Linked DNA regions of Homo sapiens: all the other regions are linked to region 1. The links are contacts of gene promoters, found by promoter capture Hi-C in blood cells and fetal thymus (Javierre and others, 2016). All regions are on one chromosome and are shown on one strand. Each heading gives the region's core, a stretch centred on a gene start or on the middle of the fragment in contact. The rest is flanking DNA. Distances are from core to core; before and after follow the strand shown. Region 1 holds the start of VTA1 (vesicle trafficking 1). Region 2 overlaps AIG1 (androgen induced 1). Region 3 overlaps HIVEP2-DT (HIVEP2 divergent transcript). Region 4 overlaps HIVEP2 (HIVEP zinc finger 2). Region 5 overlaps HIVEP2 (HIVEP zinc finger 2). Region 6 has its middle 650 kb from the start of GJE1. Region 7 has its middle 230 kb from the start of HIVEP2.

Region 1 (4,283 bases), core at 898-3,397:
TAATAACATCAAATGTGATAGGCATATTAGTGTTCATTTTATTATTCCTTAAACTGTCTGCACATTACATATGCTTTTATATGTACATGTTTCATAACTAAAATTGTTAAGTGTCACCTGAGCAATAAAAATATTTCTTCATAAGCCTGATGAGAGCAGTTTCAGTGAAATACTGGGCATGAAAACCAGACTGCATGGGCTGAAAGGCTCTACAAGATAAAGGCGTAAAGCTAACTTATGGACAACTATTTCAAACTTACCTATAAGGCTGGAAAAGCAGAGCTGCAACTTTAGGGAATGATATGGTGAGAGTTTATGTTATATTTTTAAATAAAGGAAACTGGATTAGGTTTAGAAAAATCTAGAGGGAAAGGACGACAGTGAGTAAGGTGTCCCTGGTTTGTCACAAAGATACATGATACAGGGATCGGGAACAGGAATTTCCTTTAGGGATGAGAGATTCTTTGACCTTATCCCATCACTCCCAAGCCCCATCCACTCCAGTCACAATAGTCTACTTACTCCTCCTTCCAGCAAGCCTCTACTTCGGGACTTTTATAACCTCTATGGAGAATACTCTTTCCCAGATGGTGCAAGGTATGCCTTTCACTCTTTTATTTCCCCAAATGTCAATTCAGTGAAGTGTTCCTGACCACTATGAAACTGAAATCCCATCTGCACTCCCTGCCACCACTACTCCTGATACTCTTATTCCTTTTCCTTGCTCTATTTGTCTTCATAAGCTTTTAATACTCTATGTATGATAGACTCTATATTGTTGAAACTCTCTACCTCCATTGTATGTAAGCTCCAAAAATGCAGCAAATGTAGTCACAGCGCCTACTAATGCTTGATACAAAGGTAGCTCAATGAACACATACTGAATGAATATGGACCCTGCTTGAGGAAACTGAAGAACAAGTATAATAAAAATGATGCTGTAAAATTTGAACAAAATGAAGTAATGCACAGAGAATAATCAATTTGCTGCCCACAGAAGTGGTGACATTTGGGTTAGATCTTGAATCATGAGTTTGCCAAGTGCAAGAAAAAGGTGCACATTCCAAGAGAGTGGAAGATGGTAGGTCTGAAAAGGCCTTGCACATTTGAGAAACAGGGTACATTTGGAGTATGGCAGAGATAACAGTGACCAGATTTTAGCTAACCTTACAATATACACAACAATGGACGCATTATATCCAACTTCTCAACTCTAAATATCCTTTTCAGAATTATAATTGTCCAGTTACTTGTTTTATTTGCAGTAAAGTTAAGAGTACAGAATACAAAATAAAGTTAACACAGAATTACTGGCACTCCCTTTACTCACTACAAGTTTGAGCAGAGTTAACCTATATTTTTTTTAATCAAACTGTAAATTCAACGTATAACACTCAAAGTGAAAATACTGCTTTCAAAGGTCTCAACAGCGGGTATTATTCAAAGAAGTCAAAACTAAAAATTCTGCATGGTAGGAGAGAGCAGCTGGGTGGGGAAAGGTCAAATTCAACTGCTTATTTAGTAGCAGATACTCCCCATTTAACCAAATGAGTTTCTGATTGGGCTTGCATGCTGTCATAAATAATATTCACTTATTACTATGTTTTCAACTAGTCTATCGTCCTTTTATCCACATCACTCCTTCTTTCGGACACTCACCTTCGTTTTAAACCTAACTCAATTTATTTTCAGGATTCCTATTTGAGACAAGAAGCTCTTGTGTGTACACACACAGAGAAAACCTTGGAAGATTATATTCCACAGTTCAAGAGCCTGTGTAGTCAGTACTGGAGCATTTAAGCACAAGATAGGAGAAGCAGTGGACACCATGGTGTTTTGGGATTCCTACTGCCAGGGGGTGGGAACCCAGGGAGTTCCCTGGGTAGGCTCGAGGTCAAAGCTCAGGTTTAAAGCGAGGGGGGCGGGGCATGCCCCAAGAACCTCAGGGAGGTGTGTGGGCCCTAAAATGCAACTGGGAAAGAAAGGGCGCGGCCACTCGGAAAGACTCACAGTAATAAGCCACCACAGGGTCTCGCTTGTCATGCTCCTGAGCCGTCCTCAGATGATGCTGTATGCTCTTGAACTGTGCGGGGAGCGGGGGCAGCGGTGCAAGCGCGGCCATCTCTACTCCGAACTCACCACTTCCTACTCGCGCTCCACCGGCACTTCCGCTTCCGTCTGGGCGGTAGCGCGCACGAGCGTTCAGAGCAAATGCTGCCCACTCTTCCGTTGCTCAGCGACGTCAAGTCAACTACGGATCCCCAGCTGGGACAACCTCAGGGTGCTTGGCTCTCGGCGGTTAGAACCCACAGAAGACCCGAGCATTTTGGCGCTTATGCCGCGCATGGCGCTAGCGCTCTCTGCTGGTAGGAGGAAGGGTTTTTGTTTTGTTTTGCTTTTTTGTTTGGTTTGTTGTTTGTGGCAAAAGGAAGGATAGAAAAGGAAAAACAAGAAAATAATGTATGTTGACTGGGAGAAAGTATAAAGGCGAGAATTGCCTTTGGCGTCATTCAGGAATTACCACTTCCAGTTAATATGCCACATTAATATTCCATATAGCAGTGTCCTTTAGAAGCCTTTTTGATTTTAGAAACTTTAATTTCAATACTTGCATGAGAGAGAAATAATGTGTTTAAATTGTAAATTAAATTTTTCTATGTTGACATACTGGATAAAATAATCAGATTTCGCGCCAAATTAAGCTAAACATATGAAGCTTAAAGAAGATTGAACTTTTGTTCTCAGCTGGCTAGTACGTATTTTAGTGAATGAATAATCTGTAGATCACCTTTTTTTTTTCTGGAGAGTGATTAACAATTTGTAAAGTATTTTCATATTTATTATCTTGTCTTAATGTAAGATAGGGTGTTTGGGACGTTTTCAACGCTGGTAACTCTTAACCATTGTACAGTAGGCATCACTTTTCCTTCTACCCTCAATGACTTCAATTCTCTTCCTCTCCTCTCCATCCCTTACTTATATCTTTCAGGACTGTACACTTTATTTACTTCCTCCAATAACCTTCTTTATTTTATCTCAGTCCTCAGTTTTGACAATTCATCTTAAAACTAGTTTTCACTGAAATCACACTATCCCCAAGAGCCAAAATCTCCAGCTCGGAAATTCCCCTCTGCCTACTATTTTCTGATCACTCTCTCACCCCCAGAAGAAACCGCTCCATGTCCTCATATTATCCCACTCCACATACGTTGCCTAGACCTATTTGCAAAGTCCATCATCTTATTCTGGGTCGGGCTTTTTTACTCAGCCTGAAACTCAGTTCTGTCTTCTTCCCCAATCTCAGCGGCATATTTCCTACCACTGGAGAATGTATGGTTTCTTTCTCTTTCTCTTACTCCCACTATTTGGACTTTCCAGTCAAAAGTTGCTAGATTGGTAGAGAAATCAATGAAGAAAAGCAGAGTTGGATAACCATAACTGTTTTCTTTCTATACTCACAACTTTTCATTTATTTGTTTCCTATTACTTCTTGATTCTCAACCGCAGCTGCCCTTAAAGATCAACTTTAAAGCCCACTCCAGGCATTCTCACTTAATTGTTCTAGGTGGGATCCTAAATGTCAGTATCTTTAAAAGGTCCTCATGTAATTTTAATGTTACGTCTAGGGTTAAGGACCAGTGCTGTAGTCCACAGATGGTGTTTCAAACTTCTCTCGCTCTATTCAAGCTAGGCACTCAGCCCCAATTTCCTTGGTCTACAACAGCATTTCCTGCTATTGAGATTAAGGCCACCACCAGATATGAATTATTTTGCCTTGCCTCTACCACAACTTAAAGTAATAATAACTAGCTAGCAGCATTTGCTGAGCATCAACTATGTATCATGCATGTTTCTAGGGTCTTTATATTAATTTATTTAATTTGCACCACAACCCTATGAGGAACATATCATTATTATTTTACAGATGAGAAAAATAAGACACATAGAATCTAGATAACTTGCACTAGGTCACAGCCAGGAAGGATGAGTATTCCACATTAAAATCTAGGTATTTTGGTTTCAGAGCCTGTGCACCTAGCCATTACTACTTGACTATGATGTCTTTCTAGATCTTATGTTTTATCTTTTCTCTATTCCATCATCTTATGTCTGAGAAACAAATGTTCCTCTTCCTGGTAGAAGGCTGCACCCTCCTGTTACTCTCCTGATCTCCCCCTTCAGAAGTGAATTTTGCCACTCTTTCTCATTTGCATACATTCATGTGTACTCTTATTTGCATACCCTCATGAGCAGGACTGAGGGAAAAATAAGAAAGTGAAATG
Region 2 (4,283 bases), core at 910-3,409, 920 kb before region 1:
TCATCTCTCTCTGGTTTTCTGAAATTCCTTTGCAATACAGATTTAGATAACAAAAAAAGTACCTAGATTATATTACCTTAAACTTCTACAAAAATGCCTTCACCTAGCCAAAATATAAGACCATGCCTTTGGCTTTCATAAAACCATCAAATAAGAAACATTAACCATAAAAATTTTTCTATATATTACACTAAAAACCAATCAAAGACATTATCTACTATGCTAACCAATGTTTTTTTTTTATTTTTATTTACAGACAGGATTTGGCTCTGTCACTCAGGCTGGAGTGCAGTGGCACTATCATAGCTCATTGCAAACTCGAACTCCTGGGCTCAAGTCATCCTCCTGCCCCAGCCCCCACATAGCTGGGACTACAGGCACATGCAAGCACCCCCAAATAATGTTTAATTTTTTGTAGTGGGAGCCTTGCTGTGATGCCCAGGCTGGTCTCGAACTCCTGGGTTTAAGCAAGCCTCCTACCATGGCCTCCCACAGTGCTGGGATTACAGGTGTGAGCCACCATACCCACCCTTAATGTTCTTTAAATAAATATCTGAGTGATAAATTACCTTGAAAAGTCAGTGCCTGGAAAGAACTGTATTTTTCCCAATAAATTGTTATACCTCCTTTCTTTCAACATAAGGACAATACAATCAAATGTGTATTGTTTTTCACCTTAGTTGCCCTGAAGATTATTTAAATTTGTTTCTCAATAGCAATAACTAACCCATCTCTCGTATCTGAAACATATCTTTCTTTTATTTTCAAATTGTAATTTCTTACATTTTTTTGTTATATCACAGTGAAAGTCAATCTGTAATATGTTTTGAAAATAGGCAGAATTCAGGCCAGGCGCGGTGGCTCACACCTGTAATCCCAGCACTTTGGGAGGCCAATGCAGACAGATCACTTGAGGTCAAGAGTTTGAGACCAGTGTGGCCAACATAGTAAAACCCTGTCTCTACTAAAAATACAAAAATTAGCCAGGTGTGGTGGCAGGTGCCTGTAATCCCAGCTACTCGGGAGGCTGAGACAGGAGAATTTCTTGAACCTGGGAGGCGGAGGTTGAAGTGAGCCAAGATCACCACTGCACTCGCCTGGGTGACAGAGTGAAACTCTGTCTCAAAAAAAAAACAAAGAAAATAGGCAGAATTCATATATTAAGACTGCTCTACAGGGTCCTACAATTAATCCATGTAAATGAAAAAACAATGCAACTTAGAGCAGCATTTATCAACCTTGAATGTGCATAGAAATCACCTGATGATCTTATTAAAATGCAGACTCTGATTCAGAAGCTCTGGGGTGGAGCTGGAGATGCCACATTTCTTACAGGCTCCCAGACAAAGTTGATCCTGCTGGTCCTCAGCCCGCACTTTGAGTAGGCAGGGCCTGAACAATATTCTGCCATGACATGAATGAAAAGCCAGTCTAGGAGGAATAATGGGTATGATACGGCCCTAAGAGAGGATGACTCTCAAAATGGCCAGTACTACAAACTAGAGCCAATGGGATTCCCAGATATGTTTCAATCTTTAAAAATCAAGATGTCTTACATCCATCATCAATATTTTAAGTTTTCTAAAAAATCCAGTTCATGGTTTTCAAAGAAGTTGATTCTGACTCATCTGTTAGACTCTACCATATACATATGAATAATGTTCTGGTTGATACATTTTTAAATTCCTATCATTTTGAATGTTTTTGGGAGGAGACAGGACAAGAAAAGAATACTCAATGAAAATTTGGGAAGAGAAAGCTTCCATTTACTTAAACATTTACTAAACACCTATTATACCCCAAATACTACTTTAAGACCTCAAAATACATTTGCCTTTTTCTTTTCATTTATTTATGTTGGTTTTATCCTAATTCTTCTTTATTATCTTTTGGGGCAATTATCATGTAACACACAGCATAATCATTTTGCTAGTGAATGAATCCACATCACTTGAAGAAAATTCATCAGCTGTGATATTGACTAAGAAAGTGTTAATATTTGAGTAACAGCTAGTTTAAATTTTCTTTCTTTCCAGCTTATTTCCAATTAAGTGTATTTCTTCTCCTGGCCTGACATGTTACTTAATGATAGTCTCTGAAATACTTCATAGTAAAGACCTAGTTTTTCCAAAGTTGTCCATGTCAGGCCTCTAAGCCGAAGCTCAGCCATTGTAACCCCTGTGACCTACACATATACATCCAGATGGCCTGCAGGAGCCAAGAAGTCTGGGGCAACCGAAAAACCACAAAAGAAGTAAAACAGCCAATTCCTGCCTTAACTGATTAACCAACATTACAACATTCCACCGTTGTGACTTGTCCCTGCCCTACCTTAACTGATCAACCGACCTTGTGACATTCTTCTTCTGGACAATAAGTCTTATGATCTCCCCACCATGTACCTTGTCACCCCCTTCTCTGCTAACAATAAATAACCACCTTTTACTGTAATTTTCCATTAGCTACCCAACTTCTATAAAGCAACCCCTTCCCCATCTCCCTTCGCTGACTCCTTTCTCAGACTCAGTCCGCCTGCACCCAGGTGAATTAAAAGCTTTATTGCTCACACAAAGCCTGTTTGGTGGTCTCTTCACACAGACACGCTTGACAGTCCAGTCTTTACAAATCCTCATATTGCCCACTGTTACACATATGTATGTCTCCTCCACATAATTTCATGGATGAAGTAGGAAAAAACTTGCATTTTTGTTAAAGCTAAAATTAACCAGTTATCTACTATACATAAAGGGCTAGCTGAGTCACTGCATTTATTTCATATAAGTACAAAAAGAGTTAAGTTTTTTTTCTAAGTCAGAGGCTTTAAAGCCAAGTATACTAGTTTTCTATTACTGTGGTAACCAATTACTATCAATTGAATGGCTTAAATGACACAAATTTATTATTTTACAATTCTGGAGGTCAGAAGTCCAAAATACACTACCATTAAGCTGTCAGCAGGTATGTGTTCCTGGAAACTCTAGGAGGAAAACCATTTTTTTGTCCTCTCCAGCTTCTAGACACCTCTCACACCCCTTGTCTCCTGGCTCCATCCTCCATCTTCAAACCCAGCATTGTCGTATCTCTCTCTGACTTTCTTCCAGTCACATCTTCCTCCAACAAGCTCTTGTCTTCTGTTTCCCTATTCCTTTTAAGGACCCTTGTAATTACATTGGGCCCAATGGGATAACTCAGGATAATTACCCTATTTTAAGGTCAATTGATTTGCAATCTTAATTCCATCTGCAACTTTAATTTCCCTTTGCCATGTAACCTAATGTATTCACAGGTTCCTGGCATGAGAATGTAAACATCTTTGGAGGCCCATTATTCTGCCTACCACACCAAGACAGTGTTCTTTTTCCATTTACTAACTTCAATTTTCCAAAAACACCTTAGTTCTCTTACAGTTTCTCAATACTAGGAAAAGAAACCATTGGAGAATAACAGTATAAGATTACTGGTAGCAACAATGTGTATTTCAGTTTTTGACCATAAGCTCTGAATCTACTGGAATGACCCTCATACCCAAGGAGAGAAATGAATACAGCCAGAATGGCCACTGCCACATAATCATCTGCTCCTGGATGCATAGAGCCTGAGATTCCTGACTCAGATCCTGGTAAACTGAAGCCATGGAATATGGAATCCAACTGTGGCTATCAGGATAAATGATTCCTGCAATCCAAGTTGGCTAGAAAAAAGGGCCTTCACATTACAATTTTAAAAAGTTAAACTCTTGCAAAATTACTCCAATAAACTTAGACTCATTAATATTGTACAAGGCACTAGGTAATAAAGTTTACGGTCTTTTTAACATTAAAAGTGAAAAGTAAAATGGCTAAATTATAGTAGCCTAATCATTTCATGCCATTACTGAGGATTGACAGGTTGGTTGTTTTAACAGCTGTACAATGCTTAAGCTCTAAGGATTCTAAATCTCAAATAATAAAAAGAATAACACTTTGCATGAATGTTTTTATGAATATATCTCAGACATACTTTCTCACAGGCACTCTTTGTTAAAGATAATTATTATGTTTCAATCAGGAGCCACAGAGTAAAAAATTACAACGCTGGCTAAAGGTCCTATACAATCTGAAGCTAAATATGAAGCAAAGTAAATGTTTCACATTTGAATCTACTGTCTGACTTCTGGGATAGAAAAAGTCCTGTATGGTGATTAGTATTTAAAACAGGCAAGTCCAATCATTGAATGCTAAAAGATAAATTATATGACAGCATATCAAGCTGACTCTACTATGGTTTCATGTCACACAAAGGTT
Region 3 (4,283 bases), core at 1,276-3,775, 800 kb before region 1:
AACTTCCTAATACATTATACTCACCAGAATCACTGGGAGCAGACTCATCTATATAAGGGGACTTTTCAAGTGGCTGAATATTTTGAGTACAAAGTATTTTAAAATGAGTTTAATTTTCTCCTGTGCAAATCTTTCTAAACAGATCATGGATTTCTTCTTCCTCTTACACAAGGTGTATTGCTATGACACACTAGTCTCTCTGTTGTTTGGGTTTATGAAGCACATGGATGACTGAGTGGGATTATTTCAGCGATGACTCTGTTGTTACCCCAGTAACAGCTAAGTAAACCCACCCTGCTTCGCATCTGCATAATTTTGTTATCTTCTTGTTTGCTGAGAGCAGCCTCCTCTGGATCAGAAATAATATCCTCTACTTGCTCATTTTCTCTTCGATGCTTCCAACTTGCTACCTTATTTTACATATAATTTCTAGGTCAGGGCCTGAATCACTGCACAAACTTAGTGACAACTATTTTACTTTTTTTGTTTTACTACCCTAAACTCAAGGTTCAAACCTATATAAAAGAGGGTCAGATCTACCAGATATCACATCAATAGATAAATTGGGAGTGGGTCAAGTCACTGTTCTCAGGAATTCTAAAAGTTCAAGGACTTAGGTACTAATCAAGAAAAATACATTTTTCCCAAAGTGTTTTATGGCTGACAATGAGAAACAACGCTTCTCCTTTCGGACCATATAGTATGCCAAATTTATATAGCCTATGTTTAAACCAAAATCACTATTCTCTGAAACCCCCTACTATACCTTGCCCATGTACTCTCATTTCTTTAACATTGGAAATTTATGTTTTACCCTAAGAAACCACTGCAAGAGCTTGGGAGGAATTTGGACTTTGATAAGCTCTCTCTGCTATTTTTCTTTTTCATGCCTCCCTCTCTTCTTTTCCCCTTCTCTGTCCCTGCTAGATTGTTAGGAGTTTCTATTTCAGAATCTTATGATTGAAAGGGAATCCCCTAGTTGCTTGAATGAGGAAGTGGAGGCTAAGAGAGGGGACCCAGGTCTCCCGCTAGCTCAGAGTCAGGACTAGCACCTGCACTCTGGGCTGACAGAGCCACCCAGCTTCTGCCTAAAAAGCCTGGATCATCATGCCCCACTCCACAGGCCCTGAGCACAGGCATCCTCTGTGTCCAAAGACAGTGGCTTTTGCGTTTGCCTTTCCCTTCATCGTTTCACACCTTTCCCCTTCAATTTGTATCCTATTCCTAGTTGCCCTAGTGTGCCCATGTCAGTCTGGTCCAAGCTTTGGATCTCTCTGTCTCACTCCCCCTCCAGACCTTCCTATATTATCTCCATTCTATGCTTTGTCAAGATAAATCAGTTTGATCACTAAGCTAGCTGTCACTCTGTAAGGCAATCTAATAAATTAATCTTTCATAAGAAGTTAATGACTGATTAAGAGCTTAGGATAAGAAGAGCCTACCACTTGTAGTTAGCTTGTACGGGAAGATTTCTACAGAGGCAGAGCCTTAACCCCAAGCAGTGACTGTTAAGTGGAGGAATTTCAGTTCTAACCAATTTTGGAGTTGGGGGAGGGTGATGGAAGAAAGTAGGATGGGGGATGATGTTAATGTGGTGCTCTTAAATTGCTAACATTGTATCATAAGCCTACATTTCCCTGTATCTAAGGTGGCAGTTCAGGCATTGGTAATCCTGGACAGTCTTACTGGCTGCTCCTGTATCTGATATTTGTTCATCTTTAAGAAGGTTATCTGTGAGACATCAGTGAGCTTCCTCAGAATAAAGGCCTGACTGGGCATTCCTTGAGCATTCTCTAGAATATAACAAGCATTTCACAGCAGATTGGACTGAAGAAACATGCAGTATCCTTCCATAAACTATGGGCAGGGTTGGTCCTAAGCTAAGCTAGAAAACCATCAAAGTTTGCTTGCATCTTGCTCATCCCCACAGCTGACCTCTCCCTCCCCTCGCGCCCTCTATGCATTCGTATATTCCGTGCCCACCATTCCCTCCTTCCCCTGCACCCTTCTCATCCCCAGGGCTGGATCATTCATGGGATCATTTCTTTCCTGACATATTTTTTGTACAGAAGAAATCTGGTTAAAATAAGAGCCACATGAATATCTTTAAAGGAGAAAAAGAGACCAACTTGTCATAAAGGATCACGTGAAATTTGAAGAATGTGACAAACAGGGAAGAAGGGAGTTCTCAGCCAGCCAGCCCCCATTCAATCTGAGGGACAAAGTGAGCTAGAAATTGTATGTAAAGGGATGCTTCTCAGACTTTAATGAGAATAGAAGTCATCGGGGATCTTATTCACATGGAGTTTCCCAGGCCCTAATTTTGAGGATTTTGATTTTATAAATCTAGGGGGTAGCCCAGGCTTTTAATTGAGCATTGCAAGAGATATTGCTACAAGTGGTCTTTGGAATATATTCCGAGCAACTCTGGAATACAGGGTGACATTTGGTTAGTTGGATGTCTGCATGCTCTGTGTGCCTTGTAAAACCCATGAGGGTAAGCACTTTATCCTTCAATCCTAACAGATGTCATCTTGAATCACAGTATGGCTCTGGCTGATCGGTCCTTCATTACCACTATCACCCTCCACTCCTGAGCCAAAGGATGTATAGTGGGATCAAAAGACTTGTCTACATTAGAATGATTGGATTTGTATCCTATTGACGATTCAACAGACATGCAGATTTTCCCTCCAAATTCTTTTCTTCAACTAATTTTTGGGGACCTATGTATTCTTAACATCACATGAATCATGACACTGCTTAATTTTCCTCCATATACTAATTAAAGCAGATAAGTAGGAAGCAAGAGATCCATCAGAAAGGCAGTTCTAAGTCATTACTCTTTATTAAGACCTAAGGCTATATTCTATTTATTCATCAGAATCCCATAGCAGGTAACCCCTTTAATGTCTTATTTATAGTACCATAAATTTATCTGAGAGAGTGGCATGCCAGTTAATTCATTTTGCACAATTTTATGGGGGGACTTTATTACAATGATTTATATAGAATTTATAGGAAATTAGGCACATCATCTTGACTAAATCCCTAGTTATAAAAAATAGGGAAACCTAAGCCAAAAGACTTAAGGGATATAGTGGATACTTTCCGCCCCCTGGTCTGCAAGACTCCTTTCTTTTGGGAACAGCTTTTTTTTTTTTTTTTTTCCCCATGAGGACCTTCTCCTCTTCAGGTCTAGTCATGACCAAATCAGATCACTCCACCCAAGACCTGCAAGTGGTTCAGGTGCAATGACATGACTAAGGCTGCCTGAGCTATCTGGAAAGAAGGTCTTTTCCTGCTGTGTTGCTTATCTAGGAAGAAGATAATCTGGGAATGCTGCCACCAACCTGCAGAATGTTTGCCTGAAGGGCAAAGTGAAGCAGAGAGATAAGAACAGAGATGGAGAAGGCCTTACCGGGTAATAATATTTGAGCCTCAGGATCTCACTATGTTGAAAGTTAGTCCTTGAGTGATGGTTATGTGAATCAATGAAATCCATTTTTCCTTAAAGTCATTTGAGTTGCAGATTTAACAGAGAGAGTCTTGATTAGTAAGATGGACATGGCTGGTTCTGGAAACTTCATGTACAGTGTCTCCTGGTACCCAGTTCTCCTGCCTGGATATATCAGGTCCCATGCTCTGTGGCAGGAGGTCTTGTGCTTTAGAATACATAAGTAACAATTGCTTTACATGTTAAAAATGCAGAGTCCTGGGCCCACAAAGATTCAGATTCCATGGGGCTGAGTGATAAAGGCCCAAAATTTGCCTTTTATGAAGCTTTTCTGGAATTCTTACGGTGACCTGAGAGGCCTTCTGTTCACTGGCTGTCTCATTTTATTCTAGCCACACCATTCCCATTGATGTCTATAAAAATTCCAGGTATTGGAGCTGTATCTTGGCTGTTCCCTCCATGTGAAAAGCTCTGTCCTCCAGATATCTCCAGGTATTTCCTTCAAACCATGGCAGAAATCTCCCTTTTCAACAAGTCTTACTCTGATGTTCCTATTTAATACAGCATCAGGACAACCCTCACCCCACCTATATCCTTTACCCTATTTTATGTTTTTCCCCCAAACATTTTACCTTTCAAAGTCCTATATAATTTATTACTTACATTTATTGTCTATCCCATTCTTCCTCCAAATCCTCTCCTCCCGCTGGAATGCAAGCTCCAAGAAAGCAGGGAACTTTGATTTGTTCACTGATGTATCTTAAGAATCTTCAGCACATAGCCGGCATTCAATAAATATTTTTGAATGAAAATTTCAGTTCGAAAT
Region 4 (4,283 bases), core at 536-3,035, 730 kb before region 1:
ATCTAATTAGAAAGAAATTATTAAAATATTGGTGAGATCCATTGTTTATGTCGATTTCATTGTACTTTTCCTGAGGAGCTGCTGGAGACTAGCTTTACTTTCATAAGCATCACACTATATGAAAAAGTTTCATTTGAGGGTTAGTTCAGATGCTACTGTTCTTTGCCCTACGTTGTAAGGGATGTTATTAGAAGCTATAAAATTCTTCTCCCTTTCTTTAAAATGTATTTGCACTTTTATGTGTAGGAGTGTGAGGGCAGAAGTAAACATGTAGGAGGGTTATGTATTCTTCATTAAAAATATATTTCACAAAAGATTATAGTTTGTGTGGGAAGGAAATAGCTGCTTGTCTGTTGATTGCACTGTGCTTATTCCATATAAGAACTATTTGAATTGAGTCAGGATAACCTCATTTTGATAATCTGATGACTGCTTCTGCTTGGAGAAGAGAATATAATTTCAAGGCTGCGTGCTGATGGGCAACAGTAATTGTTCTCTTTTTGGCAGAGCTTAGCATGGAATCTGCTTTGGTATTTTTGTAACTACATATGCAAATCTTTTCTCCCAAAGCTTTTCCCCCCTTTCTCTCTCCATGTGCAGAGCTTTTTGTAATCTTCAGGACTGTGAAATTCCAAAGGTGTGATATCGAATGCTATCCGTGTATGATGATGTGTAAACCTAAGTTAGAGCAAAATCTTGGCTTGAAGTGAAGTCTTTTTGTTCAAGCAGATCCTGTACTGTAAGCAGATTTCCCTGTATACTTGGTTTCTATGGAGACACTTTTATTACTTATAGATGATCAGACTATTTGAATGTAGTATGGGTGGTTAGTTTATCAGCTTTGGTCAGTGCAGGTGATGGAGTTTCCTGGTTAATATGTGGTCCTTTCACTAAGCTTCCTATTGTGTTGCAGGGTTTAGGAGAGTGAAGCTAACACCAAAAACCAACCTAAAACATTGAGGTAATGTGACACTGAATTTTACCTTCTTAAAGGTACATTACGCCAGCGTTATGTAAACGATAAAGAGAAACCCTCAAAATTAGGAAGATTCCTAATTGACACTGTCAGAACAATGGAATGACCCATTGCTAAAGCTCATTCTGAGAGGGAATATATGATTCTTTCTTTCTTTTCCCTCCCCTCCCCTCCCCCCCTTTCTGTTTTTTATAGACAGAGTCTTGCTTTGTCACCCAGGCTGGAGTGCAGTGGCATGATCATAACTCATTGTAGCCTTGACTTCCTGAGCTCAAATGATCCTCCTGCCTCAGCCTCCTAAGTAGCTAGGACTACAGGTGCTCACTACCACTCCCGGCTATTTATTTATTTATTTTTTGTGGAAACAGGATCTCACTGTGTTGGCCAGGCTGATCTCAAACTCCTGGCCTCAAGTGATCCTCTCACCTTGGCCTCCCAGCATGCTGGGATTACAGGCATGAGCTACTGCCCTCTGCCTCTTCTACTTCTTTTCTATGTAATCAGTGAGTTATCGGTATTGAAGGACTCTTTAGCTTTAGGAATTCTTCTTAGTGATTATCCAAGTTTTAAAATGTTTCATACTTCACTGTAGTCACCTTATAGATGAAGAATATAAGGCCTAATAAATGGATGGGCTTTATACTCAAAATTACACATTGTATTGACAGTGGCTTAAGGATAAGCTCTGCTCACTGGAGCTTGTCTGCTGGGGCTTAGGAGCTGAAAGGCTCTGACCTCGTATATATGATGTCAGGAGAGAGCGTGATGACTCTGGGTAGAGTCCTCCTGCAGCCCTGATAATGGTAGCAAACTCTGATAATTAGGGCAGTGTTTACAGCTTTAACTGTGTTATCTTAATCTTCCTGTGACAGAGGTTGGCAGTGGCCATCAGTAACTGATGTGTAGATCCACTGTGAGGCACTCAGATTTCTATAACAAGATGTCATCATTTGAGTCAGCAGGACTAGAAGCTCATGTTGAATGGTGGCTTTTAGGAAGGACTTTCATAGAGCATGAGACTGGGAACTCAGCGAGAGACACAGATCTCTGAGGAGGCATAGTATGTAGAGATAAGTGCATTTTAGTGGAAATATTTTATTCTACTCTTTTTACTTGGAAGAATATACATTTTCTAAGAGAGAAGGAGATCTGTGAGGTCTAACTATCCTGATAGCTGAAAGCAGGACCTCAGAGACCATATTTTCGAATACAGATGACAGAACTCAGGTCCAAGACTTTTTATTAAAGGCATTCTTCTAACTTCACTAAAGTTAGATGACACTATCTGATTGCCTCAGAACTAAAGGATGCACAGGAATGTACTCTAATAACATGTGTAGGGCCATTCTTACTGTGTCTCAAATCTGGTTGCTCTAGTTGTCTACATTCATTTTCTTGGAATTAATTCACTTGCTACAGAATTAGTCTTAAAAAATTCTCTTTCCAAACTTTTAAATTTTTAACTGGACATTTAAAAATTATTGACATGATGATTTATAGATATTTAAACAACTAATTGCCCACAAGTGCCTAATTTTCCATAAAATCACAGCCTGACTCGTGTGAACTGGATAAGGCCATATCCAAAATTGTTTCCTTCTGTTATTTAGGTTAGTTTTATATGAGTGGAGAGGTATTCATAAGGCCACATGGCATAGTCCAATAAAGAATTTATTTCCCTCCTGAGGGAACAAGCTTAAGAAGGTTCAGAAACATACAGTAAAACCATGAAAGAGGATCTATGCATTTTAACCATAAAGCATAAGATAAAAACTTATTTCCTCAAGAAACTTGAGTCTAGTATGGGGAAAAAAAATGACATTTCATGCTTGATCCAAACTGAGTACTAGAGATGTTAAAGATGCCTTACGTCTGAACCCCAGTGGTTCAAGGAATGGAAATGCCAGTAACTGAGACCAGAACTGCTGGGGAGAAGACACATTTTATTTTATATAACTGTTCTGTCGAGATGAGGGTGTGAGGAACCTGCAGTTGTGATTGTGGCCTCAAATTGTGCCAAGGCATTGATGGATGGAGGGAATCTAGGAAGAGCCCAGTTGTAGGCCGAACTTTGCCTGGGGACTTGATCAAAGAGAGTCTGAGCCACGCAGGCCAAATGGACAGGTTTGGACTAGGATCTCAGAGGTGTAGGGCAGCTTTCCCCGTTTGTAATGAAGTGCTGAAGCAAACCTTTCTCTTGGATATGGAAGACTGTCTCAAAGAGAGGACACCGAATGCCTTTAAAGGTATAAAGCTCCCAGGCCTCAGAGAATCTGGACTTTTAAAGGCAAGTAATGATCCCTGAGAAGAGAGGCTTCTTTGTCATCAATGTAGGACACGCTGGTGACTGTGTCTGGTGGCAAAGGCTTGCCTGTCAGTCCCACTTGAGGCTCAGCTGTCTCCACTGGGAGGGTCCAATTCCTCTCTGACCTTTGTTCCTTCTCATTGGAGTCAATTTTTTTGGTGTGGCTTCACCATCTGGGGGAGGGTGCAAGTTATGGGGTTGTTGGCAGGAGCATTGAATTTGGGTCCTAGTGAGGGTGAATATCTGAAATGTCTTGACATTCTACTGTGTTTGCTGGTGGGAACTGTTCTCTGCTGGAGAGAGAGCAAAGAGAGAATATGAGAGCTGAGTTTAGAATCCTGGGAAATATTCCTGCTTTGGGGACGAATGAATAATAGAATCTAATAAAGATGACTAAGAGGAGTAGTGAGGGGGTAGGTGGACGCCAAGAAAAGCACCATTATAGGAGAGATGAATTATAGAGTTTCCAAATTATCAATTTCATTCACTGAAATTGGTGTTCAATTGAGGGTATTCTATATGCCAGGTTCTATGCTAGTCCCTGTAGATACAATATGAACAAGACATAGTCTTGGTCCTCAAAGAATTCATTGGAAGTCAGAGATCATGGCCCATGTGGCACTATTGAGTGACTTTTGCTGGGATTGCAGTTTAAACCAGGGAAACAGAACGCAGCCTGTGGGTGAGCCATGTTTGGAGACGGGCATGGGAGGGTCAGAAGGAGGCTGGAAGGCTGCCTGGAGAAGAGACTGTGGAAGCCTGGGGAGGGTGTTAATGAAGTATCTGACTGTGTGATCTGCAGCTGCTCAGACAGCTGAAGTCAGATGGCCTGGGATGGTTGAGAATCAGGGACCCAAAGTCAACATGAGAGCAAAGAGCCACTCCAGCAGCTGTGAAGAAGTGAAAACCAAGGAGAGAAGGGGGTCTTGCATTAGCAAGTGGGGATCTGAGTTTGAGATAGAGGAGAAGGAGCAGGTCAAGAGGATAATGGGGTTGAATTTG
Region 5 (4,283 bases), core at 608-3,107, 710 kb before region 1:
TGGAGTTTTAATATAAAGAAATGCTCATGATTAGGTGTTTACAGCACCTAATCTTCAACAATTAAAAAGAAAAATGTGTGGGTGGGGTAAAAAATAGCAATACCCACACTCTGAAGTTTTGGAGAAAAACAGGAAACTAGTCTTTTTTAACCAGTGATGCCCAAAACTGGTTATTGCAAAGAGGGTTGTTTTTCTAATGCAGTGTGGTCAGCGCAGCTGCACCCGAAGTAGAATTCTGCTCATGATGCAGCCGTCTGTGGATTTCTTTAGCTGACAAACCTATAGACAGGCAGGCATAATTATCAGTTCTAACCTGGTCATTATGGCCGGATGGTGCTTGGAAAACAATTTGCACAAGTCCTGAAACCCCGTGAGAACATACAAAATAAGAGCATTTGGCGAATATGCAGTTATTTCCGGGAGTTGTGAATGACTTAGATCTAGGGGCTATACAATAGCTTATTGTAGAAGAACTGTTTGAATTCTCTTTTTATTTGGATTTTTTTTTAAGTTGACAGACAACATCTGATGGCAAATGACTTTTTTTTTTTTTCTAATTTGCTCATGAACTCAAGCTTCACTTTCTAACAGCGTTTTAGATGTTTCTACCTTTTTATTTTTGGCATTCGCTGGTTGGTGACAGTGAAGTCATGATTTTAAAATTGGGGTTACAGAGATGTTGTTTCCTGGCCACAGAGTCTCACAAATGCACTATCACCACTACGTTTCTGAACAACATGAGAAAAATGATCACAGAGGAGACCATTTGGGCAACACCTGACTAGATTTTTGTCCTTTTGAATAATGTAGAATGCTTCAGAACCCACTTGAAGTACAGTAATCCCCTTTATCTGCATTGTACCTTACACGGAAGTCCAGGTTGGTCTCGGACCAGTCACTGAGGTTTCCCCTCCACTTCCTGCTGTGGGCTCAGTGTCTTTGGGGAGCCCCTGCTAACCAGAAGTCTCCCTCACAGGTCATTTCTTTGTGTCATCTTTCTAAGGATAAAAAGGGGCATTAGACTTTTGAAAGTTGAGTGATATAACCTAGATTTCATTGCTGATTGCATTTTATGGTCTCCAAGCCAAGCATTTGGTTTGTGCATTGAAGGCTTTACGCTTGTCTGTTTGTATCAGACTTTACAGTTATCTCTTTAATAAGTAAATTACTCACGCTTCTCTTTTGTGAAGCTTGATTTCAGTGCTTGATCCAGGCAGTGTGCCTGGGCTTAGCAAGGCCCCCTCTCCAGCTGACTGCTGAGGCAGTTCCAAAAAAGGTAGTCATTACTGCTATTGATTTCTGTAGCACATCGGTCATGTTAGAATTATTTGCAGTGAGAGGGGAGTCAACTCCTTGCATATGACTTTTAGTTTCACCACCAATGTATTGTACATTGAAGTCTTCAGTATCTTTGAGTCTTCAGTGTCTTGGGGGCAGTGACCCAAGCAAGTCAAAGGAGATTCTTTTCACTTTTTTCTCTGGGAATGGCTTGGGGAGAATCCTGGATATTAAAGTGGTGCAGTAGGTGGAACTGGGAGACATAAATTCTCCTTTTCTTTTTTTTTTTAACCCCTTGCTGTCTGTTTTTTAGTGAAAAGCGATGCAGTTACCTGCCATTTCCCCCTTACCAGGATGTGGTAAAAAGTAACGAGAGAATGGTTGTCAAGCGTTGTCAAATACTGAAGACAGATATTTTATAAAGTGCCAGCTTTTACTGAAAACAAACACACCAAAAAACAACAAAACCAGCAAACAAGCATAATTTATCAGAAGGTCTCAAATTTCAGACACATTAACATCCTGGTGTTTCAGTTGGGAAAACATAGCCCTGTGAGCTTGTGATAATGTTGAACTGGCAGTAATAAGAAATAAGTGAAAGAATACTTTCACTTCTTATATATGCCTCCACCATAGTGTATTTTTAATAAGTTTGCATACTGAGATTTTGGAAATCTGTGGATACAAATATAATTTTACACTTTCATACCAGTAAAGCCTGAGTCCAACGTTGACACTCTTCCTTTTAAATGGCTCACTTAAGCATATGAACAGAAGCACTGCATAAAAAACTCAGTGGGGAGACTCAGGAAAACAGATTCCTTTCTTATTGTAGATCCATGAACAAAACCTATCTCAGCAGATAATTCAGTATAGTTGAGAGGTTCCCCAGAACTAATTTTGGTTTCTACCACGTGGTTATTAATACATTAAGTATTTGCCCATTAAAATTAAAGGCTCCTCAAATTCATACTGTTTGTGCCCATTTTGTTTTTGTTTGTGATTTTTATTATAACACAAAGACAGTTTAAAACACACTGTACTCTTCTTCTTCTGTCCTTCCTAATGATAAGATGGTGCTCTGGGGATGACGGTTACTTGTACAGAAGGTTGTAGCGGAAGAGGCCAGTGTGGAATGATTAGTCCTTTCCCTGCTGTGCACACACAAAGATTGGTCCTTCATCCTCACAGTCAGCATTTCTCATGTGGCCTGGAGCTCAGTGGAGACTTCGCCTATCAAGCTTGGGGTCAGCTTTTGCCTGTGTTCAAAAAAGTTGCTCTTGTGGGTGAACTTACCACGTGGGTGGTTCATCTATTGTAGCCCACAGACACTCCATGTGACTGGGACCCTTAATGAAGCGGGTTTCATAAGCTCCCTCTTACCTACTTTCTTTGGAGCCAATTCCCTTCTCTTTACCTTTTGGGAAGAAAACCAGCATGGTGGTGAGAACTGAAAGTGAAGTTGCAGATGACTAAGCCAAACTTTTTCTGCTTTTAGTTGAGGAAAAAAAGGACCAGAAAGAAGTTACTTAACGTTCCTTGCCCGGGTCATGGAGTCATTTGTGGTGGAGTGGACCTGAAAGCTGTGCCTGCTTTCATTCTTTTTCCTACATCCGGCCCAGTAGGACTTTTCCCTGGGGGAGATTATTGCTTTAATACTGGGTGGCTGCGAGCATTTCAGGAACGTGTGCATGTTCCTGGGTTGTCATTTGATGCTTGGGGAGGAATACAGCTGCTGTTTATGGAAAAGCTTAAGAAGCAGGATGTGGCATTGGTGGCAGGGTTCACATTCACAGAGGAGTTTGTGCAGTGCCTTCCCTGGAAAATTTCAGTTACATTCAGGTGATACCAAGTTCATCCCGTGCCCTTTCTGCCAGCCTCCTAAAGTTCGGCTGTCTTGATTGGACATCTTCAATTAAAAAACAAATGTCACACTTTGTAATTCTGAAGAATACTATGGGTTTTTTTGTAGAATTTCTCTTGGTTGAGCACGATCTTTAGGATGAAGTTTGAGTAATACAATTAGTCTAAAGGATTTTTGTTATAATCACTTGCTTAAACATCAGGAGCCTAGTGACATGTACCAAAAAGTTATTGCAGCAGAGTTACAATGTTACCGGTTTTCTTAGCTCCAGCATGGTTAGGCATTTGGAGCCAGATAAGTCTTTGTTGTGGGCGACTATCCTGTGCATTGTAGAATACTTACCAGCATCCCTGGCCTCTACCCACCAGGGTACAATAGCATACCCCTTCCCACTCCCAGTCTTGGCAACCAGAAAGAACTCCCAGACATTGCCTAGTGTCTCTTAAGGGGGCAGAATCACCCTAATTGAGAACTACCACAGGCTAACAATAAATCTGAGGGGGATGGCACAGCCACCAGCCTGAACCGGGTTTTTATGAACAACACAGAGCTTGAATTTAAGAAACCAGAGTAAGAAACAAAGACTGAGAACATTATGTGACTAAACAGTGAATATTCCCAGTCAGTGACAGAGTGAATGGCAACCCCAACCAGGGAATTCCCCGGTTGCCTTGTGGTAGGAATTCCCTTCTCTTCCTCAATTCTCTTGCCCTCAATTCTAGGACACTCCCTTTTCAAAGGCTGCTCTAGCTTCTGATTCACTTATTTTCCCTGCCCTCTTTTCTTTTCCATTCTTCTGCCATCTCTGCTGCTACCAATGCCTGGACCACCACTGCTGCCCTGACAAAAGACAAGAGCCACTGAGATTCTTCCTACTGATGCCCCTGGCCCATCTGTGTCTTGCTATTCTTACTTTGTTATTTACCTCTTAGAGTTTCACCTAGACTTTTACGGTCCTTGTAGGAAAAGGCAGTTTCATATCCTATTGACTCAATTTCTCAGTGTGACTATTTGACAAGAAGCTATGCCATCTAAGGTGGGTAGGTTCTATGTTGCTCTTATTACATTGCCTTAGGCGAATTCTAAATCAGGTTATACAGGCTTTTGAAGGGTGGCCTTGCATGCCAACCAGTATTTATGA
Region 6 (4,283 bases), core at 569-3,068, 660 kb after region 1:
TACTGATAAAAATTTTACACCACTGGAACATTTCATTATTTTGGCAGGATTGTCTTTGGGCAGCACAACCTTGAGGAGCAATGTAGCAATATCTTATAAGGTTGAAGAAACAGCCATAGACAGCTCAGTAATGAAATCATTACTGAATGTGTACACTAGAGAAACTCTTACATATGTGCAAATTTAGTAAATGCTCCCTGTCCCTTTGGCCTGATGAGTTCACCTACTGCTCCTTTAAACAGCTACTGACCTGCTGCTAGACTGTAACTTCCTGTTTCTGCATCACCCTTCTCCACTTAAGCCGTTTCTCTGAAAACAAATGAGATAGAAATGCTGGACACAGGAACACTCAGTATGTGCCTGTGTTAACACTACTTAAGGGAAATCCTCAACAATTGGGGCTAAAAGGCAATGGCTAAATCCTGTAGCTTCCTTGTACTGGGGTAGAACTAACCCAAGGTATGTTCCTTACAATCCCCAGTGGGATTGTGACTCAGTTGTTAACTGTGGTACTCAAGCTTGTTAAGACGTAACTTTATTGCCCCTTTTCTCTTACCTATTTCCCTTTCTTTCTTTTCTCATTTTTGGTGCCTGGGATCAACTTCAAAATAAAGTGTCTGTGTCCAAATCCTTGACTCCATTGGATTTGGTGGGGGAAGGATTAAGACTAAACAGAATATGAGAATGTCCATTCCAGCATGATTTGTAATAGTAAACAATCAGCAAAATTGAGGCTTTTAAATTTTATTGTGTTTTATAGTAGCTTAGCAAAATAAATCAATAATTTATTTTTATATCTAGAACAACCGAGAATTTACATTCAGAGATATTAAATTTATAATATCTTCATAAATTGGAATTGGAATTAATTTATAATATTTTCTTATGTGAAGTCAATACTACTGACTATCAAGACTTCTTATATGAAGTCAATACTATTATCACTTTTTGGTGTAAGTGTGGAACATACATTCAAATGACTACCAAGTAATGGGATTATATGCATGCTTAGAAATAAATACAGATATCAAGTTCTGAATAAGTGGTCATGGTAATATTTATTCCCAGATAATTGCAACAAACCATGTAGAAATTATATATTTCTTAGATGAATCAACAATTCAATTGTATTATACTGTGTATTAGTCTGTTCAGGCTGTCAGAACAAAATACAATAGACTTGATGGCCTAAACACAGAAATGTATTTTCTCATAATTCTGAAACTGGAAGTCCAAAAGCAAGGAGCCAGCAGGGTTGGTGTGTGGCGAGGGTTTGCCCCTTGGGTTGCAGATGATTGGATGCCTCCTTGCTACATTTGCTACATGCTGTCTTGATCTTTTCTTTGTGTCCTCCTGGAGAGACAGCTAGAGAGAGAGAGAAAGAGAGAGAGTGAGAGAGAGGAGAAAGTTATTTTTCTCTCTGGTGTTTCTTCTTATAAAGACATTATTTCTATTGGATTAGTGTCCCAATTTAATGATCTTATTTAACCTTAATTATATCTGTAGAGGCTTCTTCCCCAAATACACAAATACAGTCATATTGGCAGTTAGGCCTTCAATATATGAATCTGGGGGAAGGAATATAAATATTTAGTCTATAATATACTCACATTCTGTACTCAAGACTTTTTATTAAAATAAGTTACAAGGAACTTATCATCCACTGATTACTAAGAGGCGTTGGGAACCATATGCAAATAATTTTTAATCTTGATCCTTCTAACACTTTATTACAAACTATTCATATCTAGAATTTAAGATTTGGATGAAACTTTTCAGATTATCTACTATAAGCACAACGTACAAGGATATTTCTATGTGTTTCTTGGCAAGGTGCCAGGATCATACTCTATTTCTGGGCGGAGGGAACAGTGCATTGTATTTACCTAAATATTTAGAGAGTCTTCTTAATATTGACTTATAATATTTTTTCTTATAATGTCTATACATTTGACATAAATATGCCATCTGGAAAATGCTGACCATATGTGTTCTCTGATTCCAAGTATCACTGTATTTATTTTCATGGTAACCTAGCTTCAGAACAACTCAAGTGCTCAAACCAAACACTGTAATATGGATACTGCCTGTCAACTAACAGATACTTTTTCTATGATTTCCTCATAAAAAGTATTTGCACAGGCTGGGTGTGGTGGCTCAGCTGTAATCCCAGCACTTTGGGAGGCTGAGGTGGGCGGATCATGAGGTCAGGAGTTCGAGAACAGCCTGGCCAACGTGGTGAAACCCCGTCTCTACTAAAAATACAAAAATTAGCTGAGCGTGGTAGTGAGCTTCTGTAATCCCAGCTACTCAGGAAGCTGAGGCAGGAGAATCATTTGAACCCAGGAGGCAGAGGTTGCAGTGAGCCGAGATCACGCCACTGCACTCCAGCCTGGGCGAGAGAGCCAGACTCTGTCTCAAAAAAAAAAAAAAAAAAAAAAGGATTAGCACGATACAGAACCCTTTTCTCATAATGCCATTTCAAAATTAAAGTTATTTGTTTTGTTGTTGTTGTAGTTGTTTTGGTAAAAGGAAGAAGAAGAAGAAGAGAAAAATTATGGATATGAGGGCAATCTAAGAGCAACATCTATCAACCATTTGATTGCCAGGGTTGGTGCAGCAGATCTGGTTGACTAGACAGGTGTTCCCTTCCTTCCTCACCACTCCATATGCGTTCCTTCCAAAGCTGTGTGCTCGGTAAAAGAGGATGACCATCCGCGATGGAGAAGGACCCATCTTCAGTCAAGGGCACGTGAGTAGATGGGCTTCCCTGCTAGAACTTCCAAACAAGCTCTCAAGAAGAGAAAAATCAATCACATGATATTATTCTTCACCTCTCTTGTTTATTATTTATTGATTTATTTTGTTGCTATTGTTGAATAGTTCATATAGAGTAAGTCTGGAGAAAAATAAATTAAACGGTAAGGACAATTCAGTGATTATCCAATTGAACAGCTGTATGTGAAATAACATCATTATTGGTATTACTTTATTACTTTTAGGGTTTGAATTCTTGTGTTCAAGTGTAGTTCTTTCAGATATTGTTGCTGTATTATCATCTCTAAATTTGTAAGTTGTTTCTTATTTCACAGGGACATAAAGACTGGAAACAAGCTTCATTGCCATTGGGGTTCAGTTGTATCTAAGTGATAAGAGAAAATTTCTTGGTGTTGTAGAAGAGCAGAAGCCATTGTTCTCATGCCATGGCTGAGGATAAATGTGTGGGCTTTGACAAATGGCAGACATGGGTTTTTGCCCATTGATTTTGGAGATCTTCCTGAGAATCATCTTCTTAGGTGTGGTAGGCAACTAAAATAATTGTTAATGGCTTCCTGAGATTCCTTCACTTAAAAATATCTTGAAAGCAGCTTTTCTGACTGTCATTTTGCCACCTCTCAGCAGTTTTATTGGCCACTAGTTCTGTGTCTTAAACCTCTTTACATGTAAAATACTTAAGAGTGCTTTCAGTTTTAATGTCTAAACTCTTATCTATTCAGTAGTGGATATTTGCCACTCTCTTCTAGTAAATATCTGGTTTTCAAATAGATTATATGGTTATGTGAGAAAAATCCCAGAATTAAAAAAAAAATCAGTCCTATTAAATTAACCACATACCTCCATCACACCCAAAGTTCTTGCTGCTTTTCCTCATTCTTTCAAAAAAATTTTTTATGGTTTCAAAACTCCATGCTGATAGTTTTTATCTTTTGTAATGATATAAATCAAGAAAATATGTCAGGAAATAAAATTGATATAATTTCAATACATTTATTTTTATATTGTTTTATTTTGTATTAGACTTGATTTTTATGATAAAAGTCAATGAAAGTTATCAAAATTTAGAAAAATAAAAATGAGATGAAATGTATTAAAAGGAAATCTTTAGACAAATTTAAAGGAGTTTAATGAAGCAGAGAATTATTTGGGAATCCAGTAGCTCTCAAGAGCCAGCAGAGTGGTTCAGAGATCTCACTTCTGCAAAGTAGGTAGGCAGTACATATGGACAGAAAATGAAAGTAAGGTACAGAAACTGGTTGGTTACAGCTTAGCATTTTTTACTTGTTTGGACATGGTCTGATCAATTGGCAGCCTGTGATTGGCTGAAGCTAGTCGGCTGTGACTGGCTGAGACCTAGCAATTTGTTACAATATATACTCCTAAATTAGGCTTTCAGTTTGTTTAGTTAAATTGTAGTTTGTTATGTAGGGACCTACGGTACCGAGACAGCCTCAAGCCAAATTTAATTTAATTAAACAATCATCACCTCAATCTTAATCTTGGCA
Region 7 (4,283 bases), core at 597-3,096, 570 kb before region 1:
ATGGCAAGGCCATGCCATCCCCACTGTGCTTTCCTTAGAGACCATTTTGCTTTGGAAATGCGGAAATGGACACTTGCCCTTGGTCCCACGCACATGACTGATGAAGCTGGGAGCAGACTTCATAATTTCTGACTCCTGGAATTATTATCATCTCATTGCCCCACCTGCCTCAGAGGAGCTCCTTACCACCCCCTACCCCACTCCCCGACACTCCACAGAATATGCCTTCTGTTAGCTCCTGCTAATGAAAAACAAACAAACAAACAAACAAAACCGCACAGGTATTGAGGGTGTGATGATATTCATAGGAGGATAAATCCACTTCCAATTTCCCTCCCTCAGAACTTTGGCCTCCCTCCCAGGGGCAGATTCACAGCTGTCAGGGCTGTGGAACACAAGCAGTCCAGGAGGCTGAGCAATTGCACTCTCAACCAAGTCAGGCTGCCAGGCTGCCATATTTTTGTAACGTGCTGGGCTCTGTGAGGAGTTAAGTGAAGGGAATGCTTGCTTGCTGAAAGGGTAGGCGATTTGGACATTGTCGGCAGGTGATGAGCAGCATCCCCTAAAGGGGGTTGGGACTGCAGCATTTGAGCTTTCACCAAAGCTAGCAGAGGTCTTTGGAGTTTCTTTTGGCTACTGGAAATTCAAGTGTTATAAAGGGATTCAGATTGGGCTTGGTGGCTCATGCCTGCAATCCCAGCACTTTGGGAGGCCAAGGTGGGAGGATCCCTTGAGGCCAGGGTTTGAGAACAGCCAGGGCAACATAGTGAGACCCTGTCTCTACAAAAAGCAAACAACTTAGGTATGGTGTCATATGCCTGTAGGTCCCAGCTACTTAGGAGGCTGAGTGGGAGGATTGTTTGAGCCCAGGACGTAGAGGCTTCAGTGAGCTGTGACTGCACTCCAGCCCGGGCAACAGAGTGAGACCCTGTCTCTTATGAAAAAAAAAAAAAAAAAAAAAAGGATTCAGTTGAGAAGAAATATCCATTACCAGAAGAGTCTCCTTTCTCTTTACCTGGAGACAGAGGCTGTGAGAAGAAGCAAGAGGGATTCCATTGGGGACTCATAAAAAACAATGGCATATGAGAACATTCTCTTTTATACTCATGGTGGTGAAAGATAGGTGTCTTTTCAGTGAGAGGTTCAAGTCTTCCTGAGAGATGGGGGTAAAATTAGCTGCTCCTAGAAGTGGAAGCAGGGGTCATGAGTGAGAGCTGGGTGGTTACCTTTCAGGCAGAATTCTGGAGACTGTTTCACGCCGAGAGCAAGACCCACTGGAGTAGTGAGGCTTTGAGGGTTGGAGCATGGCAGCCACATGCTCCTAGCACGGTTCTGTTGGTGATGTGGGTCACTCACCACTTATGTTTGCTGAGAAAGGGTGCTCTTCAAACAACAAAAAGTGATCTGACAGAGCATCACTTTAGTTGATCGGGACCCAGTAATCTTCCTTTCCCTCTCATTCTTCCTTCCTTATCTTTTGGGTTCTTTTGAGAACCCTCTGACTCAGTGGTCCTTGACCTTGGTCATATATTAAAATCATTTGGAACATTAAAAAAATACTGATGTCCAACTCTCACCTGCGGAAATTCCTAATTCTTTTCAGTTGAGTCTGGGCAGCAGTATTTTTTAAGGCCCCCCAGGTGATTCTAATCCACATCCATGATTGAGTATTGCTCCTAGTCATTCATACTGCAAACCAAATACAGATTTAAAGCTTAGGAGAATCCTTTTCAGCATGATTCTGTAGGTCCATGTATATCTGCATGAACAAAAGATTCTGATCAGTAAGACCATCCCAATTGGCTTTAGTAGCTTTCTTCACTAGAGTTTTCTTGACCAGATGCAGTTTGCATTCTGTTCAGAAGCCTTGCCACAACTCTATGAACACTTTTAACAAATATCAAATATACAAGAAGCTCTGAAATCTACTGGCTTATAAGGTGACTTGCCATCTTGATGTTTCTGATTGGAAGCTTTTTACAAGGACCATTTAGGATTCATGCTGCCTCTTTACTAGTGAAAATGTAGGCTGAAGGTTACCAAACACATCCAGAAAGAATTTCCTTTGGCTCAAGATTTCAGTCCTTTTCTTACTCTCTCATTTGCTCAAGATTTCTTGGGACTCATTATAGGATGGAACAATTCCACTCCCACATTCTCACTTGGCATTTAAATCCTAGGTTGTCATCGAGACATATCCTAATCACTAATGCATGCAACAAGCACACCAGTATTGTTTTTTTTTCCCTTTCTCCTTGTTGTGTGGTGAATAGAAAATGTACAGTTGGGGAATCAATCAACCTCAGTTCTAGTTCCAACTGTAGCTAAATAGCTATGTGACTGTGGGACAATCTTCATTTCTTCATGAGTTTCTTACTTGTAAAACAAAGGAGTTGGACTAGAATCTCTGGTTTTCAACCATTGTTGTTTTCTTTTTGTTGCTTAAAGTGAGAGTGCCCTTTCTTCAAAAACATTCTTTCTGTAAAAGTCAACATGTAAAACTGATGGTCAGAAAGCTGAATTGTTGTGGGGCTTTGGGGTCCCTGAAATCTTCTGAGTTTCCTCATTTTCTCCTCCTAAAGCTACTCTGCCCTTAAAGGGGTTCTGTAGGACCCCTAGGACAAGACAAAGAAGATCTAAAAAATACGGGCTAATTAGTTAAGGTATTTTCTGCTGTATCATTCTCCGAGTTTACATGCATCCACACATGAACATATGTGTGCACATGAACATATATCCACAGGCACACAGAGTTTGATTGATTGGGCTCAAGAGGTAGCAGATACGGTCAGACTAGGAGGGATCAGGATTTGGAAACTAGGCATATTCACTACAAAGAGAGGGGTTCTTGGAGCAGGCCCTTGGAAATGCATTGTGCCTGCTTCTAGGGACAGCAGGGAGTAAAATGCACTATGCCATCCATAGTTTGGCAACTGGCAGGTGCTCAATGGTCTGCTGGCTCAAAAACTTGTAGCAGATGACATCCCAAAGTGGTGACTTCATGACTGGAATTCTGGGATAGCATCCTGGAGAAAGATCTGTGAGGAAGCAGGCTTGAGACAGCTGGTTACTCAGGAAGTCCATGATCAATGGAAGTTCACTGCCATTGGAAGAACCATTCCTCAGGTCTCACATATCCCACACAGACTGGTAACTTCCAAGTAAGTTATACATCCTTTATAAATAGCAATGATACATAGCATGTCTCATCATCTCCCCTGGACCTTCAGGATATTTCCATGATTTTAAATGCTTATCTGAGGGACAGCTGCTTAGCTATCAATTGATACTGTTGTCTCAAAAAAGATTTCATAGGATTTTCTTTACCCCATAAGAATGCCCATTCCCAATTCAGAGGGGATTTCAAAAAATAAGGAAATGACTTGGGGTTAGACATCCATTTCCTTAACACAGACATATTTAACTTTAAGCTTGCTGAATCTTAGATATTGGTCTAATATGTCTGGGATCCTCCTAACTCCAAGTGAAGAGGCCTAAAATTTCTCTATTTTTACTGGAAAAAAAGAGAGAGTTTGACTTTCAATGCCATACTTTTTTTTTTCTTCTTTTTTTTGAGACAAAGTCTTGCTCTGTTGCCCAGGCTGGAGTGCAGTGGTGTGATCTCGGCTCACTGCTACCTCTGCCTCCCAGGTCCCGGTTCAAGCAATTCTCCTTCCTCAGCCTCCCAAGTAGCTGGGATTACAGGCACATGCCACCATGCCCAGCTAATTTTTGTATTTTTAGTAGAGACAGCATTTCTCCATGTTGGCCAGGCTGGTCTTGAACTCCTGAACTCGTGATCCACCCTACACGGCCTCCCAAAGTGCTGGGATTACAGGCGTGAGGCACCGCGCCTGGCCCACCATACTCTTAAATAAAATCAAAAGCCATCTCGAGACTATTTCTTTTGGAACCTTCCTATGCATCAGGCTGCATAGTCTGCAGAGTGATCCGTGCCATTCACGTGATGAAACCATTGATAACTGGCGTTATTCAAATAAGTGAGATATCAGTCAACACTGTTTAATATGGTGTTTAGCACCCTTAAAAACAATTAAACCCAATGGATTTCAGGCCAAAACAACAGTCTTGGAAGATCACTTTAGTTAGGGCCCAAATAACTGAATTGAAGTCAAGAAAAGGCTGGCCTGCCAAGAAGTAACAGGTGATTATGTAGGAATACGATTTGAAGGGCTCTGACCTTCCAGTGGCAACACTGTGTGAGTTTGTTTTCTGTACCCAGGGGACCGAGTGTCAGGATCCTCACTGTTGAGTGCTGGATA

Evidence for each region. The method cuts DNA at HindIII sites, captures the fragments that hold promoters and counts their contacts. A CHiCAGO score of 5 or more calls a contact.
Region 2: a contact is called between a fragment that was not itself captured here and the fragment with the promoter of VTA1 in region 1, in 1 of 17 cell types (fetal thymus). The highest score is 5.0, in fetal thymus.
Region 3: a contact is called between a fragment that was not itself captured here and the fragment with the promoter of VTA1 in region 1, in 1 of 17 cell types (fetal thymus). The highest score is 7.2, in fetal thymus.
Region 4: a contact is called between a fragment that was not itself captured here and the fragment with the promoter of VTA1 in region 1, in 1 of 17 cell types (fetal thymus). The highest score is 5.5, in fetal thymus.
Region 5: a contact is called between a fragment that was not itself captured here and the fragment with the promoter of VTA1 in region 1, in 1 of 17 cell types (fetal thymus). The highest score is 5.3, in fetal thymus.
Region 6: a contact is called between a fragment that was not itself captured here and the fragment with the promoter of VTA1 in region 1, in 1 of 17 cell types (total B cells). The highest score is 5.2, in total B cells.
Region 7: a contact is called between a fragment that was not itself captured here and the fragment with the promoter of VTA1 in region 1, in 1 of 17 cell types (monocytes). The highest score is 6.3, in monocytes.

The regions. Positions count from the first base shown.
Region 1 is chr6:142,145,127-142,149,409 of GRCh38, reverse strand. It overlaps VTA1 (vesicle trafficking 1), which reads right to left and starts at 2,147. Exons shown (of 8, transcript NM_016485.5): 1 at 2,011-2,147. The coding sequence starts at 2,122. It overlaps NMBR (neuromedin B receptor), which reads left to right and starts at 2,288. Exons shown (of 4, transcript NM_002511.4): 1 at 2,288-2,366. RefSeq lists enhancers at 1,446-1,966, 2,221-2,360, 2,124-2,418. The HindIII fragment of the contact is 1,973 bases long and covers 746-2,718 here.
Region 2 is chr6:143,063,136-143,067,418 of GRCh38, reverse strand. All of the region lies in intron 1 of AIG1 (androgen induced 1), which reads right to left. Among named protein-coding and RNA genes, the nearest start is that of AIG1, 4.4 kb to the right of the region's middle. The HindIII fragment of the contact is 795 bases long and covers 1,762-2,556 here.
Region 3 is chr6:142,949,530-142,953,812 of GRCh38, reverse strand. It overlaps HIVEP2-DT (HIVEP2 divergent transcript), which reads right to left. Exons shown (of 3, transcript XR_001744397.3): 1 at 4,121-4,283; 2 at 3,422-3,665. Among named protein-coding and RNA genes, the nearest start is that of HIVEP2-DT, 5.2 kb to the right of the region's middle. The HindIII fragment of the contact is 2,521 bases long and covers 1,265-3,785 here.
Region 4 is chr6:142,879,499-142,883,781 of GRCh38, reverse strand. All of the region lies in intron 1 of HIVEP2 (HIVEP zinc finger 2), which reads left to right. Among named protein-coding and RNA genes, the nearest start is that of HIVEP2, 64 kb to the left of the region's middle. The HindIII fragment of the contact is 1,776 bases long and covers 898-2,673 here.
Region 5 is chr6:142,853,489-142,857,771 of GRCh38, reverse strand. All of the region lies in intron 1 of HIVEP2 (HIVEP zinc finger 2), which reads left to right. Among named protein-coding and RNA genes, the nearest start is that of HIVEP2, 90 kb to the left of the region's middle. The HindIII fragment of the contact is 1,329 bases long and covers 1,193-2,521 here.
Region 6 is chr6:141,484,689-141,488,971 of GRCh38, reverse strand. It overlaps the pseudogene RN7SKP106. Among named protein-coding and RNA genes, the nearest start is that of GJE1, 650 kb to the left of the region's middle. RefSeq lists a silencer at 173-373. The HindIII fragment of the contact is 2,596 bases long and covers 521-3,116 here.
Region 7 is chr6:142,710,293-142,714,575 of GRCh38, reverse strand. No RefSeq gene overlaps it. Among named protein-coding and RNA genes, the nearest start is that of HIVEP2, 230 kb to the left of the region's middle. The HindIII fragment of the contact is 259 bases long and covers 1,717-1,975 here.